2 separate regions of the Homo sapiens genome follow, and region 1 is linked to region 2. Evidence: promoter capture Hi-C in human tissues and cell types (Jung and others, 2019). All regions are on one chromosome and are shown on one strand. The core of a region is centred on a gene start or on the middle of the fragment in contact, and the rest is flanking DNA. Distances in the headings are between cores, read along the strand shown.

Evidence for each region. Contacts are between HindIII fragments. The study calls those that stand out against the background at their distance.
Region 1: a fragment that was not itself captured here is called in contact with the fragment with the promoter of IMPA1 in region 2 in 1 of the 25 tissues and cell types used here (hippocampus).

What each region holds. Positions count from the first base shown.
Region 1 is chr8:81,005,739-81,008,491 of GRCh38, reverse strand. The region is part of intron 3 of PAG1 (phosphoprotein membrane anchor with glycosphingolipid microdomains 1); the gene reads left to right. It overlaps LOC124901967 (a long non-coding RNA gene), which reads left to right. Exons shown (of 2, transcript XR_007060979.1): 2 at 1-2,753. Among named protein-coding and RNA genes, the nearest start is that of PAG1, 100 kb to the left of the region's middle. The HindIII fragment of the contact is 5,670 bases long and covers 1-2,753 here.
Region 2 is chr8:81,684,946-81,687,645 of GRCh38, reverse strand. IMPA1 (inositol monophosphatase 1) reads left to right here and starts at 1,321. Exons shown (of 9, transcript NM_005536.4): 1 at 1,321-1,394. RefSeq lists an enhancer at 1,075-1,575. The HindIII fragment of the contact is 9,069 bases long and covers 1-2,700 here.

The sequences.
Region 1 (2,753 bases), core at 164-2,663, 680 kb after region 2:
TGAGAACTATACTGTAGTCATACATCTTGGTGTCTTAGATGGATCCTGGCTACAGAATCAAAAACGTATGATAGATAAGTGGCTACTGCAGAACACCTTACATTGTTCTTAATTATGTTCTTCGTAAAGGGAAGCAGAGTGTTACCAGTGACTACTAGTGAGCCAGTTGCCCCTAAAGTTTGTTTATTCCTGAAACACTATAACATGGCAATTTATTAAGTATAATGAAGTAGAATTTTGAAGAGTTTGGAGAAAGGTCTAAAATATGTGATGTGAAAAAGACTGAATTATTCTTGTTTATGGGATAATAGCATATTGTTTTACAATTTGTGTCTAGAAATCACGTAACTGTTAGAAATAATTGCTTACAAAAAGAACTAGAATGAAACCACATAGCTTATATTATTTAATCCGATGGACAAAATGATACATACTAACTTCTTTTCCCAATAGCAATTACTAGATGTCAGTGGCTACCTTGATTTTCCTAGATGAGTTTTCTTTTTGTCCTAAAAACACATCTTCTTGTCCTGTTTTGTAAATATATTTTTCTTGAAGTTTTCCTGTAATAGATGCATGAGAAATAAGCACACAGTGATTCCCCCGGACCAGATTCCACTGTTATATTTCTCACAGTAAGCATTGGCAGGGCCACTGCCACGGCTATTTAGTGCAAACCTCATGCCTCTAGGAGGTGCCACTCACAGAAATATAGTCTATGCTCTTAGTACAGCCAGACCTCCTCAAAGCCTCAGTGGCAGAGAAGTGTGAACTCACATTCCTGACTCCATGTGTCATTCTTCAAGCTCCCGTGTTTTATTTTTTAAGTTCTTTTTTTTTTTTTTTTTTTTTTTTGAGACAGAGTCTTGCTCTGTCACCCAGGCTGGGATGCAGTGGCACGATCTCAGCTCACTGCAACCTCCACCTTCTGGCTTCAAACAATTCTCCTGCCCCAGCCTCCTGAATAGCTGGGATTACACGTGCCCGCCACCACACCCGTCTACTATTTTTTTTTTTTTTTTTTGTATTTTTGTATTTTTAGTAGAGACGGGGTTTCACCGTGTTGGCCAGGCTGGTCTCGAACCCCTGACCTCAGGTAATCCACACACCTCAGCCTCCCAAAGTGCTGGGATTATAGGCGTGAGCCACCATGCCTGGCCTATTTTTTAAGTTCTTAATAGAACCTTGTACTCCATGAGATCCATGTTTCTTTTATGATAAATTAACTTAAAATCAAATAACTTCCACATTTCTAGAAGATGTTGTTGGCACCTTTTTCCCGCACTTCCCACAACATGTCTCTAATATATGCCTGTCCCTACCTGCAAACCTTGCCGCTGTATCATAGGCTACTCTCTCTCTCTCTGCCTCTCTGTTGAATGCCTTTAAAATACCCTTTCCAGAAAAAGAGTGAAAACGTAGCATAGAGAAGTGAAGGGGGCAGGGCTGTCAGAGCCATACTGTGATATTTGTTCTCATTGTACAACCTGAAGACTTTCCTTGGTCTCTACTTTCCAAAGAAAATGGAAATTGGGGGTAGAGTGACCATGTTGACTGCCTTACATACAAAGGGCTTTGAACTCAGCACAGGGAAAGGCTCTCTTTAAAATGTTAGCTTAATGAATCCATATTCTAAGGCCTCTCCAAAAAAGTTCTTAATACTGTGGCATACAATGTGAGTTCCACATATGATCCTTCAACTTGAAAACCTCTGTGACACTCAAAATGTAAAACTCTTCACATTATACTCCAAGACTTTTCATAAACACAGCCTTAACCCATAACTTCCATTTTATTCATGATTTCCAAATAGAAAAAAAAAATGGAAAATCTCGAGGAAGACAGTGTGATTTTAAAGATGTTCAGAATTGCATTCTTTTTGGTGCATGAGGTCTTGTAATCCCATTGGCTCCATGGCTTTCTAAGGAGGGTCAGTTTTCTGAGTTCTCCCTGTGGACTTCTGGAGTTTCACTGCCTCTGCCCCTGGGGACCCGCTATGAGATTAGATTTTTACTTTCACACTATGAACCAGGAACACAGTGAGGCTTGTCTACAGAACCAGTGAGATGGAAAGGGACCAGGAAGAGGTGGCACTTCAGTGCCCACACAGAGAGAGAAGGGATAGAGAACAGATTCAGGATTGGGCAGTGCAGGACTCACAAGCACGAGACCTGTGTCCTTCAAAGGGTTTTCTAGTGAATTACCTACTTGGGAATCACTTAGGATGCAAGATAAAAATATAGATTCTTGGCCAGGCATGGTGGCTCATGCCTGTAATCCCAGCACTTTGGGAGGCTGAGGCAGGCAGATCACTTGAGGTCAGGAGTTTGAGACCAGCCTGGCCAACATGATGAAACCCCATCTGTACTAAAGATACAAATATTAGCCAGGCATGGTGGCACATGCCTGTAGTCCCAGGTACTTGGGAGGCTAAGGTGGGAGAATTGCTTGAACCTGGGTGGCAGAGGTTGCTGTGAGTCGAGATCGCGCCACTGCACTCCAGCCTGGGCGACAGAGCAAGACTCCGTCTCAAAAAATAATTAAAATTTAAATTTAAAAATTAAAATATAGATTCTTGGGCCCCTCTCCAACTCTATTATATCTGGGCCTCAGCCCTTTAACAAATTGCCCCATGTGTTACAAGGCAGGACTGGGAGAACGTCAGGGAGTGAGGGATTCTGGAGGGCATCTTTGCCTGGGAAGGACGGCAAGTGAAGCCTATGAGGCTGACAGATGGAGGGGCAGGTGTGCTG
Region 2 (2,700 bases), core at 72-2,571:
CACCCGGCTAATTTTTTTGTGTTTTTAATAGAAACGGGGCTTCACCGTGTTAGCCAGGACGGTCTCGATCTCCTGACCTCGTGATCCGCCTGCCTTGGCCTCCCAAAGTGGTGGGATTACAGGCGTGAGCCACCTTGCCTGGCCTAGAGTAGTATTTTTATGTTTTATGGCTGGCTTTATAAAAAAGGGGTCCTGATTTCTGGGACCTGATTTGGGAAAGAGGAATTCTAGCTTCTATGACTAGTCTGGGGAAGAATGTGGGACCAGAGACAGGAGACCAAAAGGAGTCAGAGGAAAATTTTTCCTTCTAAGGCTGCTTCTGAGGCCTTCATTGTGGGGTATCATTTTCTGAACCCCAAAACTTTGAACTCAGTGTGTTTCACTCTCTGCTCTTGCTGTGTGACCTGAGGACAAATCACTTAACTACTCTGAGCCTCAGTTTCCTCATCTGTCTGACAAAGCTAATCATACCTTTTTCAAGAAACTGTTAAAACTTTAAGGAAAATAATGCATATAAAAACACATTTCGGCCAGGCGTGGTGGCTCATGCCTGTAATCTTTGGGAGGCCGAGGTAGGCGGATCACTTGAGTCCAGGAGTTTGAGACCAGCCTGAGCAACATGGTGAAACCCCGTCTCTACAAGATACAAAAATTAGCCGGGCGTTGTGGCAGGCGTCTGTAATCCCAGCTACTCAGGAGGCTGAGGCATGAGAATCGCTTGAATCCAAGAGGCGGACGTTGCAGTGAGCCGAGATCGCGCCATTGCACTTCAGCCCGGGCGACAAAAGTGAAATTCCGTCTCAAAAAAACAAAACAATAAAACCCCACACAATTGCTTGAAGCATAGTAAGTCCTCAATAAATAGTATGTAAGTAAATTATCAAGAATTGGGCAGTTGGTTCTGGTTATCAGTTTATTTTTTTTTAATCTAGTATAGGTTTACCAGCTTTAGGTTAGCACCTAAAAGCTGCATAATCGGAATCATATCTGCAATCTGGGTTTTGTCAAAATAGTACTATAGAATAAATGGGAGAAAGAAGAAAGCAAGCTAAATGGGAAACCGTGAATGAATGGAGGACGAAAGAAGAAAAAGGCAAAGTAAAGAGAGAAGTAATGTTTAAAAACTGAGAGATGAAAAGACAAGCAGGAGAAAAGAACCAGAAGCTAGAATGAAGAGGCAGTATCCCATGCTCCAGCGCGGGTCAGGACCCGGCCCGGCCTGGCAGAGGCTCGCAGGGCGCAGCTCGGGGCGGGGCCCAGCAAAGCAACCACGCCCCCTCAGGAATGGAGTTTTTAAGGGCGGAACTTCCTGTTGCGAGTAGCCCCTCTACCTCCGGAAGAGACGAGTGCGGTAACACCGTTCACAGAGCTAGCCGGACGTCCTCCGACTCAAGGTGAGACCGTTATTTTCCTCACCGCACCCTCCGGGTTCAGCGGGCGCTGTGGGTTTCCAGGGAGGCCCCTTCCCTCCTCAGGAGCGGGCGCGAGCGCCGTGCGCGGTCGGCGCCTAGGGTGGAGGCAGCCTCTGGGTGACCCCTGCCTGCTGCGTTATCCGGAGCTGCCCTGGGCGACCGGGAACAGTTCCGGCATTGGAGTAGCGGTTCGCTCACGCGACCTCACTTAACCTCTGTGGCGGCTTCTGTGGAATAATTGCCCCTTTTTATGTCCCCAACTCCGAAAAGCTCCTAGAAACTTGGTGCATCCCCAGGCCCAGGTAGTCACTCTAAGTGATGGGGCAGCGCCCAGGTCCTGTGCTGCCCGCAGTCGCGGTGCTGGGACAGGTGGCAAAAAGGAAGGTGGCCTGGCTCCTACGCTGGAAGGCTGTGACCAGGACAGAAACAGCAGGAAACAGTTCAGGTGTTTATGGCTTTGGGAAAATGAAAGTGAGTAAACTACGGACCCTGCCCATCAATAAATGTACTGTGATTTATATATATATAACTATTCATATATTATATATAACTATATATAAAAATATATATAAAATGTACTTATATACTTTATATATAGTACATAAATATACTTATGTATAGTATATATACTTATATATAGTACATAAATATACTTCTGTATACTTATATATAGTACATAAATATACTTACGTATATATACTTATATATAGTACAGAAATATACTTACGTATATATACTTATATATAGTACAGAAATATACTTAGGTATATATACTTATATATAGTACAGAAATATACTTAGGTATACATACTTATATATAGTACCTAAATATACTTAGGTATATATACTTATATATAGTACATAAATATACTTACATATATACTTACATATAGTATATAAATATACTATATGTATAGTACATAAATATACTATGTATAGTATATATACTATATATACTATATATAGTATCTATACTTATGTATAGTATATATAGTATCTAAATATACTTATGTATAGTATATATAGTATCTAAATATACTTATGTATAGTATATATAGTATCTAAATATACTTATGTATAGTATATATACTATATATAGTATCTAAATATACTTAATGTATACTATATATAGTATCTAAATATACTTATTTATAGTATATATATCTAAATATACTTATGTATAGTATATATACTATATATAGTATCTAAATATACTTACGTATAGTATATATAGTATCTAAATATACTTATGTATAGTATATATACTATACATAGTATCTAAATATAC